Linked DNA regions of Homo sapiens: region 2 is linked to region 1. Evidence: promoter capture Hi-C in 16 types of primary human blood cells and fetal thymus (Javierre and others, 2016). All regions are on one chromosome and are shown on one strand. The core of a region is centred on a gene start or on the middle of the fragment in contact, and the rest is flanking DNA. Distances in the headings are between cores, read along the strand shown.

What was found. Contacts are between HindIII fragments. The CHiCAGO score rates a contact against its expected background, and 5 or more counts as called.
Region 2: a contact is called between a fragment that was not itself captured here and the fragment with the promoter of ORC5 in region 1, in 1 of 17 cell types (naive CD4 T cells). The highest score is 5.5, in naive CD4 T cells.

The regions. Positions count from the first base shown.
Region 1 is chr7:104,205,890-104,212,989 of GRCh38, reverse strand. It overlaps ORC5 (origin recognition complex subunit 5), which reads left to right and starts at 4,977. Exons shown (of 14, transcript NM_002553.4): 1 at 4,977-5,157. The coding sequence starts at 5,086. RefSeq lists enhancers at 4,799-4,958, 5,009-5,088, 5,129-5,318. The HindIII fragment of the contact is 7,936 bases long and covers 4,461-7,100 here.
Region 2 is chr7:108,523,591-108,530,075 of GRCh38, reverse strand. PNPLA8 (patatin like domain 8, phospholipase A2) reads left to right here and starts at 3,941. Exons shown (of 11, transcript NM_001256007.3): 1 at 3,941-4,047. It overlaps LOC124901722 (a long non-coding RNA gene), which reads right to left and starts at 3,601. Exons shown (of 2, transcript XR_007060473.1): 1 at 2,431-3,601; 2 at 294-625. RefSeq lists enhancers at 3,323-3,662, 3,953-4,072, 3,844-4,804, 5,484-6,019. The HindIII fragment of the contact is 2,782 bases long and covers 3,079-5,860 here.

The DNA.
Region 1 (7,100 bases), core at 3,728-6,227:
CTTGCTAGTGGTCTATCAATTTTGTTGATCCTTTCAAAAAACTAGCTCCTGGATTCATTAATTTTTTGAAGGGTTTTTTGTGTCTCTACTTCCTTCAGTTCTGCTCTGATTTTAGTTATTTCTTGCCTTCTGCTAGCTTTTGAATGTGTTTGCTCTTGCTTTTCTAGTTCTTTTAATTGTGATGTTAGGGTGTCAATTTTAGATCTTTCTTGCTTTCACTTGCGGGCATTTAGTGCTATAAATTTCCCTCTACACACGGCTTTGAATGTGTCCCAGAGATTCTGGTATGTTGTGTCTTCGTTCTCGTTGGTTTCAAAGAACATCTTTATTTCTGCCTTCATTTCGTTATGTACCCAGCAGTCATTCAGGAGCAGGTTGTTCCGTTTCCATGTAGTTGAGTGGTTTTGAGTGAGTTTCTTAATCCTGAGTTCTAGTTTGATTGCACTGTGGTCTGAGAGACAATTTGTTATAATTTGTGTTCTTTTACATTTGCTGAGGAGAGCTTTACTTACAACTATGTGGTCAATTTTGGAATAGGTGTGCTGTGGTGCTGAAAAAAATGTATATTCTGTTGATTTGGGGTGGAGAGTTCTGTAGATGTCTATTAGGTCTGCTTGGTGCAGAGCTGAGTTCAATTCCTCGGTATCCTTGTTAACTTTCTGTCTCGTTGATCTGTCTAATGTTGACAGTGGGGTGTTAAAGTTTCCCATTATTATTGTGTGGGAGTCTAAGTCTCTTCGTAGGTCACTCAGGACTTGCTTTATGAATCTGGGTGCTCCTGTATTGGGTGCATATATATTTAGGATAGTTAGCTCTTCTTGTTGAATTGATCCCTTTACCATTATATAACGTCCTTCTTTGTCTCTTTTGATCTTTGTTGGTTTAAAGTATGTTTTATCAGAGACTAGGATTGCAACCCCTGCCTTTTTCTGTTTTCCATTTGCTTGGTAGAGCTTCCGCCATCCTTTTATTTTGAGCCTATGTGTGTCTCTGCACATGAGATGGGTTTACTGAATACAGCACACTGATGGGTCTTCACTCTTTATCCAATTTGCCAGTCTGTGTCTTTTAATTGGAGCATTTAGTCCATTTACATTTAAAGTTAATATTGTTATGTGTGAATTTGATCCTGCCATTATGATGTTAGCTGGTTATTTTGCTCATTAGCTGATGCAGTTTTTCCTACCCTTGATGGTCTTTACATTTTGGCATGATTTTGCAGTGGTTGGTGCCGGTTGTTCCTTTCCATGTTTAGTGCTTCCTTCAGGAGCTCTTTTAGGGCAGGTCTGGTGGTGACAGAATCTCTCAGCATTTGCTTGTCTGTAAAGGATTTTATTTCTCCTTCACTTATGAAGCTTAGTTTGGCTGGATATGAAATTCTGGGTTGAAAATTCTTTTCAATTCTTTTCTTTAAGAATGTTGAATATTGGCCCCCACTCTCTTCTGGTGTGCAGAGTTTTTGCTGAGAGATCTGCTGTTAGTCTGATGGGCTTCTCTTTGTTGGTAATCCAACCTTTCTCTCTGGCTGCCCTTAACATTTTTTCCTTCATTTCAACTTTGGTGAATCTGACAATTATGTGTCTTGGAGTTGCTCTTCTCAAGGAGTATCTTTGTGGCATTCTCTATATTTCCTGAATGTGAATGTTGGCCTGCCTTGCTAGATTGGGGAAGTTCTCCTGGATAATATCTTGCAGAGTGTTTTCCAACTTGGTTCCATTCTCCCCGTCACTTTCAGGTACACCAATCAGACGTAGATTTGGTCTTTTCACACAGTCCCATATTTCCTGGAAGCTTTGTTCGTTTCTTTTTATTCTTTTTTCTCTAAAGTTCCCTTCTCACTTCATTTCATTCATTTCACCTTCCATCACTGATACCCTTTCTTCCAGTTGATCACATTGGCTCCTGAGGCTTCTGCATTCTTCACGTAGTTCTCGAGCCTTGGCTTTCAGCTCCATCAGCTCCTTTAAGCACTTCTCTCTATTGGTTATTCTAGTTATACATTCGTCTAAATTTTTTTCAAAGTGTTTAACTTCTTTGCCTTTGGTTTGAATTTCCTCCTGTAGCTTGGAGTAGTTTGATCGTCTGAAGCCTTCTTCTCTCAACTCGTCAAAGTCATTCTCCGACCAGCTTTGTTCCATTGCTGGTGAGGAACTGCGTTCCTTTGGAGGAGGAGAGGCACTCTGCTTTTTAGAGTTTCCAGTTTTTCTGCTCTGTTTTTTCCCCATCTTTGTGGTTTTATTTACTTTTGGTCTTTGATGCTGGTGATGTACAGATGGGTTTTTGGTGTGGATGTCCCTTCTGTTTGTTAGTTTTCCTTCTAACAGACAGGACCCTCAGCTGCAGGTCTGTTGGAGTTTGCTAGAGGACCACTCCAGACCCTGTTTGCGTGGGTATCAGCAGTGGATGCTGCAGAACAGTGGATATTGGTGAACAGCAAATGTTGCTGCCTGATCATTCCTCTGGAAGTTTTGTCTCAGAGGAGTACCCGGCTGTGTGAGGTGTCATTCTGCCCTTACTGGGGGGTGCCTCCCAGTTAGGCTGCTCAGGGGTCAGGGGTCAGGGACCTACTTGAGGAGGCAGTCTGCCCGTTCTCAGATCTCTAGCTGCATGCTGGGAGAACCACTGCTCTCTTCAAAGCTGTCAGACAGGGACATTTAAGTCTGCAGAGGTTACTGCTGTCTTTTTGTTTGTCTGTGCCCTGCCCCCAGAGGTGGAGCCTACAGAGGCAGGCAGGCCTCCTTGAGCTGTGGTGGGCTCCACCTAGTTTTAGCTTCCTGGCTGCTTTGTTTACCTAAGCAAACCTGGGCAATGGCGGGCGCCCCTCCCCCAGCCTCGCTGCCTCCTTGCAGTTTGATCTCAGACTGCTGTGCTAGCAATCAGCGAGACTCCGTGGGCGTAGGACCGTCGGAGCCAGGTGCAGGATATAATCTCCTGGTGTGCCATTTTTTAAGCCCGTCGGAAAAGCGCAGTATTAGGGTGTGAGTGACCCGATTTTCCAGATGCTGTCTGTCACCCCTTTCTTTGACTAGGAAAGGGAACTCCCTGATCCCTTGCATTTCCTGAGTGAGGCAATGCCTCGCCCTGCTTTGGCTCGTGCACGGTGCACTGCACCCACTATCCTGTGCCCACTGTCTGGCACTCCGTAGTGAGATGAACCCAGTACCGCAGATGGAAATGCAGAAATCACCCGTCTTCTGCATCACTCATGCTGGGAACTGTAGACCAGAGCTGTTCCTATTCGGCCATCTTGGCTGCCTATCGAGGCCATTATTATTCACTGTTTGGGAGACTGCAATAGTCGTTTCAACAAATGAAATTGATTCCACTTTCCACACTGTAGCCAGAAGGAATATTTCTAAGTCAAATCTCAACATTTGCTTCTCTGCCTACAATTCTTTATTGGTCCCCAGCCTGACCTCCTACTACTCTCCAGGTTTATATGTAAAAACTATTTGCTAGTTTCAGTTATGGGATTGCCCATTTGTCCCTTTTTGTCTGTACATTCTTTTGTTTACAATTTCCTTCTTGGTCTCACAGGTGAATCTTTTCTTCAGCCTCAGCTTCCAGGTTCTCTCCTCTGAGAAACCATCCTAAATCATCCAGATGGTAAGGCATGTTCTCTCAGATCAACAATTATCTTTATTATGTAACTGCCAGGCGTTAACTGTGTATGCTGGAAATTGAACTGTGAAGACAGTGTTTCCTGTCCTCATAAAGTATATAGAGAGGGAGACTAACATTTTAGACAGTTTAGTCAGTTTTATTGAATGCTATAAAGATGTCGTGTTATGATTATAATATATGTATACCTTATATGCACAGTATGTTACGGACGTATAACCATCTTAGGAGAGTATCAGAGGCCAGCTTCCCTTGGAGACATTGAAATTTAATGGGTGGTCCCATTATAACCTTTAGAATTCTCTATTAAAAAGTACCTGGGCAAATGCTTTTGAATTGTTGCTGTGAAAATACTATTTTGACTAGCTAATACGTTATATACCACAACTCTCAAAAGATCCTTTTGACCATCACAAATCTAAGACTGATCTACAATCTATGGGCAGATTGAAGTCCACAATTTAAATTTATGTATAACAGGTAGTATGTACAGGATCTTCTACTCCTAGCAATAACCTAGCCAGTATTATCCCTATTTTATAGATAAGGAAGTTGAGGCTCAACTATTCCAAAGTCCCCCTATTCAGCAGTTGAGTCAGTCAGTGGTCCCAACCCAGGGGTTTCAGGACGCCAAGCTCTCTTTCCACCATGCACTTGCCTACTTCTGTATCTTATTTCCAGAATCTTCTAGTGTTTAGTCGCTAGTAGGTGCCTCACAAATAAATACACGTGAAAGCCTAATGCTAAAAGTAGCATTATTTTTACTATCAACCTCACCAACACACACTACGACTTCATCCCATTAGGACTGAGAGGCTTTCCACATCTGGTTTAAAGCTTGCACAAAAAATAGTAATTCCAAGCTGTGCATTAAACCCCATTACACCCTGTTTTGTACTCAATGCCACTAATTTCCCACAACGTCGTCAGGGAAAAAAACGACAACAAAAACATCTTTTGACAATATTAGTCTTCTAAGTCCGCCTTCCACGTCCCTCTAAGGGCCCCAGCTCCGGGTCCGTCTTCTTAGGCACTCAAGGTTTCTAAACTTGGGGCTTCCAGCCGGTAAAACTAAAGGCACGGGGTTCAGGGGTCATTGGAGGCCCACGGGACCCCCTTAACCCCTTCCACCCCTTCCCTATTCGCCCATCTCCATGTCGTCTCCTTAGCCTTTGAGTGGAAAAAGCGTCAGCCCGAAATCCCCACCAAGCCCAAGAATGGGCAAAACCTCGGCGCGCACAGGACCAGCGAGAAGAGGATGGTTCCGGCCCTGAGACTAGAGCGGCGGCGACGCTCGGCGTACGCGCTGCCGTCACGCCGCAGCCCGGCAGCGCAGGCTCCTCCCACGACGCTGCGGGTCCGGTTTCCGGCGGGAGCGTGGGCCGCCAGACTCGGGAGAGGCTCCGTCTTGTGCAAGGGTCCTGTGGGCTGGCTGCACTGGCCTCTGCGGTGGTGCCTGCCAGAATGCCCCACTTGGAAAACGTGGTGCTTTGTCGCGAGTCTCAAGTGTCCATCTTGCAGTCCTTGTTTGGAGAGGTATTGTAGTTAAACTGTCTTCCAGATCCTGGAGGCAGACGTTTCGGTAGTCTTGCGACCTGTTCCAATATTTGTTTTTTCGTGTTTGGATTGAGGGCCAAAAGGCCGTTTTTACGTTAAATAGGGGTGTTGTGGTTCTGTACTGCAGCTTCACCCACAGTCTCTTCCGAATATTGAAGAGGAGACAGTCTGAGAGCGACCGGCCTGCACTATAGGACGTTGCCTAAGACGTATTTGAAACACGCCACACTTTTCAGAAGTTTGCCCACATTAGCTCCTAGAAGTTGCTTGTTATCTTACCCCAACCCAATGACATTTATGTAACAGATGTGTTTGCAGGGTGTTATTTATTCAAATGTAAGTTCACACGTTTCTGTGCGGTAGTTGGAGTGAGTCAAGTGTAGAGAGGTGGTTGCTTTCAAGGCCACTAAGGGCCAAAGCAGTGCTTCAGGTTTAAAAATTTACTGGCTTTTCCAGAATTGTAACAGTCCAGAAGAGGTCTAGGGTAAACTTTTCTCCTTAACTGATAGTTCACAGGATGCCCTAGAGAGGAGTTTGTCTTGTCTGGATGAACATAGATACGTAGGGAGTCCTTTCAATAGGCAGAGGGTAGCGTTCACCAATTCAAAATTTAACCTATTTTTGACTATTTTCTGGTGGTCTTTGATGTGCTTTTTGATTCAGACTCAATCAGAATTGGAATTAATCAAACTTGGATCTTACCTGCGAAGAGAGTGAATGAGAATTCAGGGTCATACTCATACCCCCATCTTCTGGTTTGCTTTTTTAAGTACAGTCATGCGTTGCTGCCACTTAGTGAGGGGGATACGTCCTGAGAAATGCATCGTTAGGCAATTTAATCCCTGTGAATATCAGAAAGTGTATTTACACAAACCTAGATGGTGTAGCCTGCTATACACCTAGGCTGTATGGTGTAGCCTGTTCCTCCTAGGCTATAAACCTCTACAGCGGTGCTACTATACTGAATACTGTAGGCAGTTGTAACACAGTGATAAGTCTGCATCTAAAAGTGTCTAAACATAGAAAAGGTACAGTGAAAATAGGGTATTATAATCTTATGAGATCACTGTTGTATATGTGGTCCATCTTTGAATGTACACGTGACTGTACTTTCATCCAACTAGAAATATTGCATGGCAATTTGAGGTGGCCTGTGAAGCATTAGTGGAAAAGTACTACCCTCTGTCTAAAGGGGTGCATTATTTAGGGAAGTTAGAGGTCAACAACTGCATCTTCAATTAATTTTCTATTTATACTGCTTTCAATTATAGTTATATTATTACTGGAGCATTTTCTTGATTATGTTCTCTGCATTTCATCTATGGAACGCAGATCACTCCAGCCAGAAATGTTCCTGCTGAAAGAGCAAATTGGCAAATAGGGATGAGTAAACTTAGTGGTGGATCACAGAAGAGTTTTTGACCTTTGCTTTTAATGAAAATTATGTTTAACAATATTTTAATATCAGTTTTCTGCAAGGTGCTGTGCATGTGGGAAATACAAACAACTATAGCAAAGAAATATAAAAAATTGGTTCATGTTTCTAAGAATACTCATTTATTTGTTCAATAAATAAATATTTACCGAGCACCTTTTCTGTGTCAGGTACTAGCTTATTGCAGTTTATGTTAGCGAGATTTATGAAGGTGAAAGGTTAAATAACAGTGGAACAGTTCAATATAATTCTAGGTCACAATAGAAAAGATGTTTAAGGTATTATTAGGCAACAACATGTAATGGATAGCAGAGATACTCAGCAACATGCATTTAATTCTTGAGACAGAATTTTTTGTTTTTGTTTTTTGAGACAGGGTTTGGCTTTCTTTCCCAGGCTGGAGTGCAGTGGCATGATCTTGGCTCACTGCAGTCTCTGCCTCCCAGGCTCAAGCAGTCCGCCCACCTCAGCCTCCGAGTAGCTGGGA
Region 2 (6,485 bases), core at 3,220-5,719, 4.3 Mb before region 1:
AGGTGCCCGCCACCACGCCCAGCTAATTTTTGTATTTTTAGCAGAGATGGGGTTTCACCATGTTGGCCAGACTGGTCTCCAACGCCTGACCTCAGGTGATCCACCCGCCTCTGCCTCCCACAGTGCTGGGATTACAGGCATGAGCCAACGCTCCGGGCCACACTTTATTAATAATTGCTGTGCCTTGGTGCTAAGGATCAAAACAGAAAATCCTTGCTTTCATGTTTTCAAACTATATAAAGATAATTATATTAATTTCCTATTGCTGCTGAAACAAAACACTTCAAATTTAGTGGCTTAAAACAACTCAAGTTTATTATGTCACAGTTCTGTAGGTCAGAAGTCCAGCAAGAGTTGACTGGTTCCTCTGTTCCAGGTCTCATAAGGGTGAAATCAAGGTGTCAGCTTACCTGAGCTTTTGTCTGGTACCTCTGGGGAAGAGTGTGCTTTCAGTTTTATTTAGGTTGTTGACAGAATTCAACTCCTTGCGGCTGTGTGGCTGAGGTCTCCATTTCCTTGCTGGCTGTCAGTCAGGAGCCGCTCTTGGTTCCCTATGGCAACCTGCATTCCTTGTCAAATTGTTCCTCTCATTATCTTGATCTCTCTGACTTTCGCTTTGCCACATCTGTACTGATTTTAAGGATTTATGTGATTAGATTGGGCCCACAGAGATAATCCAGGATTATTTTCCTTTCTTAAAATCTGTACCCTTAATTACATCTGCAAAAAGTCCCCTTTGCCATGTAAAGTAGCATATTCACAGGTTCTAAGGATTTGGGCATGGGCATTTTTTAGAAGGCCATTCTTCAGCCTACCATGGTGATTATTCTTCTAGAATTATTTTCTGGCATATCCCTCCCTTAGGTGATCTGGAGAGATATCTTGCACCAATATGGCTTAATTTATTTTGGTTATAATGTTAAGTTTTATTTGAACAATAAAGATATTAGCAGCTCTTTTAAAAAGCTATGAACCAGACCAGAAAGGAGTGACTATGGATGTAGAAGAGCTAAAATAGATAAATCAATAATAAACCTTATAAATAGAATGAGCATAGCAAGTAACTGATACAGGGCAATGTGATGTCTCTTTTACCCAGCTTCCAAAGAATATAGCGTTGAACAATTACTGTATTTAGCATTATTTCAAGTATAGATGATTTCCTGAAGGCATTAGTCTGCTATTATACACAAGATAATCTCCAATTTTGCATACTACTGAATTTGTTTGAAATTAAATATAATTCTCTTTTGTCTCAAAACTGCCCAACATCAAAAGAATCATAAATGGGTTTTATTTTCCATTTTTAACTTATCAAACTAGTAATCTAAATGAAACTAAAAATCAATTCAATAATACAGAATTTTAGAGAGTCTACTATTTGTTGGATGTTACGCTAGATCCAGACAATACAGTTTACCTTACGCTCCTTGACTGCAGGAAACTGGCAGGCATATAAACAAATAAATTATAATACTGTGCAGCAAGGGCAATAAGAGAAGTGAGCACAGGTGGAAGGAATGATTCATTCTATGAGTAGTGAGGTAAGATTTTCCTGGCTGAAGGACAAACAAATCTTTAGGAGGACAAGGTGGAAGGGGAGCTAAGCCAACAGCATGACCAAGGCACTAAGTATGAAAAGGAACAAGAGTATCTGGGGAAGTACAGGTGTGGCTGGAGGATAGAGAGTGAGAGGCAAGTGGTGAAAGTAAAGGCTGGAAGGTCAGCAGGGTCAGAACCTATAATTTCATTCGGTATATTCTGTGAAGATGTACAGCCAGCAAAAGCTTTTTAATTCGGGAAAACACGATTGGACTTGCACTTTCAAAAGATTACCGTGGTTGCACAGAAGAGACTGACTGGGTCAGAGGTTAGTTACAGGCTGGAAAACCAGTTTAGATGAAACTGAAGAGCAAGGATGAAAGCCTGAACTAGAGCAGTGGAAATGCGAATGTGGAGCAGAGGAACGATTCAAGAAATTCTGCGGTAAAACTCATCAGACTTCATGACTGATTAAAGGTATGGTGGTAGACAAGGGAGGGAGAGGAAGGATAAGAATGGAGAAGCAGGAATTGGGCGTTATTTGAAAATTTCTGACATGGGAGGAAAATCTGGATATTTAATAACATCTGACTAAATTAGGGGATGAAAGAGCATAAGCGGAGAGGGAATGGTGGTGCTCTCTCCTTGACCATACTTTAGTTAGGCTCCTCTGAGCCCTCTTCCCAACTAGGCCTCATCCTTGGGCCCCTGTCTTAGGCCTGCTGAGTCCAGTTTTAGCAAGAATCTTGCAAAGTCAGTTTAGAGAGTATCTCCTAGCCTTGATAATTGATCATCTCCGCCTGTCTTCAGCAAGAATCTTGTAAGTCACTTTAACAAGAATATCCCCGACCCTTGATATCACTTCTTAGTAATTTTCCATGAACTGACCCCTCAGTCTGCTTGCTGGTTATAAATCCTAGCTGTTTTTGTTGTATTAAAACTTGAGGCCAATCTCTCTCCCCCATGGTGATAGTCATGGCACCTATTGCAATAGTTCTAAATGTCTTCCTTGACATTTTAACAAGTGTCAGAATAATTTTTCTTTAGCAACAAGGAGGAATCTGTCTCAAAAACTAAAGCTCCTTCCACACGCCTGTAAGGCTTAATTGGTGCATACATCTTTTAACTCTCCTGTAGCTAAATAACATGTCTGGCTTATCCACTGCTGGGGTTTACCAGGCATTATGATGTACATAATCCAGACACTGTGTCCCAAGAACATAGCAAGCTGGCTTTCCCTCCTTGATTTAAAAAAATCAAAACAACACAACTATCAGGGTAACATCCACTACATTTGACAGGTCAAAGAATCCCCTTCCTTAAGGACTTTACAATAACCTTACAGGGGGCTAAAGCATACATACCCATGGGTAGTGGGTAAGCCTTGAGAGTACAGTATAAGTCTTGATAACATTTTGAGGTTGATAACTAGTTGAAACTGATCTGTTTTCCCGACCTCAACGTAATTGCAAGGTCACTTCAAGAGGGTAAGGGGCTATTGCAACTACCCAAATTCGCTATTGTAGTATAAAAGCTTTAATTAACAGCATGTATAGGAATGCAAAGCTATGTTCTAATGAAACTTTAAAAAGCAGACACAAATATGAATGTCATATAATTGTCATCTGTCGCAAAACTTTTTTTTTAACCTTTGAAAAATGTGAAACCCATTTTTAGCTCCTAGTACAGCAGAACCTGCGGTGGGCTGGATTTGCCCTGAGGGCTGTAGTTTGCCCCTGTGGTACGTATGAAATGCCACAATTTTAAAAAGATGTGTTACGTGTGGGACCATTTGTGGGGCGGTTTATGCTAACTTCCAATACAGTAATATATGTCAACTCGCTTTTGAGTGACATTTAGTCTGGGTGGCCATGCCCAGGAATGGATATAGAGAAAGGGGCGCGGCCGCGCCGGGCACCACCCTCCAAGAGACTGGTATCGCAGCCCCCAGCTCCAAGGAACTCAGCGCAGGCAGGGGCTTCAGGGACGCGGAGAGGGAGGCTTATCTCTGCTGAAAGGGAATAGCGGCCCGCAAACAAGCAAACCAGGACACTGCTCCGAGGTCCCGCCCAGGAAGGCAAAACGAAGTCCCACCGCTCTCACACCCGGCAACCAACCAAGGCACAGCACGCCCCACCAGCAAGCCACGCCTCGCGCATCACGCACGCACGCACGCACGCACACACGTCTGTCGCGGCTTCCCGCCTTGCGCTCCGTCATGCTCTATTGCGCATATCTCGGGGCGGGGGAGGAACGGAGATTGACAAGGAGGCAGAGGCCTGAGCGAGGCGGAAAATCCTCACCCCGGCCCGCGGGTAGACCCAAACTTCTAGCGCGTCACTTCCGCTGGGGGCGGAGCGGGGCGGGGCTGAGTGGGTGGCGACCTAGCTGCTGCGCCAGTGTTTGTGTTGGAAGCTCAGCTGATGCAGGCCGGTTGGAGTGGACGTCATTGCCGGGAACGAGCGAGTCGCCGCTGCAGCCCTAGTGACTGCGGCCTGCATCCCGGTAAGTAGCCGCGAGGGGACAGGGGCGGGACGATAGGAGGCTGGTTGATCGTTCTGGACCCTTGTCCGGCGCTCCGGGTCGTCCTTTCTTTCTTTGGAGGGCACTTCCCGAGCGAGAGGGTGGGGACACGCCAGGCTTTGGGGAGGAGCTGGCGCTGGAAGGAGCCCGCAGGTCCTGGAGCTCATTGGTACTCGGCGCCCTCCGCCCCCGTGGGCTTTGCTGCCCCAGAAGCGCAAACCGTATTTGGTTTCGCAGGTCCCGCCCTGCTCCCCCTGTCCCATCCCCACGACTCCCTCCTCAATTTTCCAGAGTCTGTCTGCCTTCCCCTGGACTGTAGTGTTCTCCAGTAGTTAACTGGTCACTCTCAGGAGGGTTTCCCTAGTCTACATCATTCTCGACTGTCAGTGTGCACCTGGTGATTCTACTGCCTGATATTTTTTGTCAGTAATCTCTTTCTGACCCCATCCACATTTGATTCTATCCTTGACCGCTGTTGCTTAAGTGGATAAGGTGTATGAATCACTGTGTTGCAGTGCTTCCTATCCCTGTGTCATTTCTATCATTGTGCTGGAAGGAACCTGCTTTCCACGCCTAATACAATGATAACTTTAAAATGGTGACTCATAGGAAAAACTCAGGAGAGTTGTGACATAAGGGACTATCATATAATCCTGCTTAAAATACTGTTTTCAATTCCAAAACAGTTGTATCCTGGTTCTGCAGTCCTAATTTCTGAGAGTTCAAAAATGACAAATGTTTCAGTGTATTAAGAAAATGCTGTTAAACAGTGAAACATTAAGAGCTTATGCCTTGTGAGGCAGTTGTATCAAGCCCATTTTAGCTATTTTGTTAAATTGCTTATGCAAATTAGTTGTCCTTTCAATATAAGAACATGTTTTTATTTCGTAATTATAATCAACTTTTTCTTAATGTTGATCTCTTTTTTTATTTCTATATCAGGACTAAATTAAAATCTTGTAAACGCCCTTTTAATGAGTGATGTTGAATGAAAGGGCCAGTTTCACTAGTTTAGCTATTCACTTGTTTCACATGCAAAGTTGTTACAAGAACAGCCTGTACTTTGAGTTGTTTTTTTTTACCCCAGTTAGAGGGGTTGTGCTGAAGCTGCATATTGCTTCACTCATGGAATATATATTTGTAAAAAGGTCAGAGTTAGAATGCTGAGCCATAGACACCTTCCTGTCCTGCCATTTTTTGTTGTTGTTGGGAGTCTCTCTCTGTCGCCCAGGCTGGAGTGCCTTGGTGCGATCTCGACTCACTGCAAGGTTCAAACGATTCTCTTGCTTCAGCCTCCCGAGTAGCTGGGATTTACAGGCGTGCGCAACCACACCCGGCTAATTTTTTTAAGTAGAGACGGGTTTCCCCATGTTGGCCAGGCTGCTCTCAAACTCCTGGCCTCAGGTGATCCGCCCGCCTCGGCCTCCCAAAGTGCTGGGATTTCAGGCCTGAGCCACCGCACCTGGCCAGTCATTTCTTAGTTCTTATCTTTCTCTGCAGTACTCAAGTATTTTATTCTGTTCATTATCCATTACTTGAAAAAATTTGGTCCTGTCTTGGTTTTCAGTGTCCTGATTTTTTCAGGGTGGCTTTTCTCCTGTTTTGTTTCCTTTAGAGTCTTTTCTTCCTCTTCCTAGCTCTGGGTGGCACTCAAGGCTCTACCCCTGTCGCTCTCCCTAAACCAGAGTTTCGTGTTTGAAACCCAAATATACTTCAGTGGGCATGTGAATATCCTGAAATATTATGGAAAATATAGTTTGTATTGCAAATACACATTTTTCAAGGAAGAAAAGCTTTACTCAGGTTGCCTGATCCCAAAATAGTCATGTATTATTACTGTAAACTATCATCTGGTAAATACGTCTAATGTTGTGGTTTCTGCTGCCACTATGCTGGTAATTCCACAAGTAAATCCACAGTCTGTGTACATTTCCATTTGAATGTCCCACTGTTACTTCATCCTGTGAATCCAAAAGAAAATGTGTTTTTCTCTCCTATTAAATTGTCCCCTTCACAGTTTTCTCATATTCGCAAATGGCACTCTCCGTATTTTTCAGATTTAAAACCTTAGAGCTCTCTTAACACTTCCCTCTCTTTACCCCATTCTTGGCTGTCAAGTCCTGTGTTTTGTTGTTTTCTCTTTTTTCCCTTACTTTCAAAGTGTTCAGAGTGGCCCTCTTCCCCACACTAGTACTTGCTGGGTGAGGTGTCAGAGCCCCAGCATCAGAAAGTGGTCAGCTTGGGGTAGTAGGGTAGTAAGAAAAATTTACCGACAACACCGTAGGTTTGAAAAGGAAAGTTTTATTGGATAGAAAGAGTGCTGCAGAAGAGTGCAGCCAGGCGCCTCAGCAAGAGAGGACAGCTCACCGCAGTGGATTTTTTCTTAGGGGTATTTATGGACCTTAAAGCAGAAGCTGAAG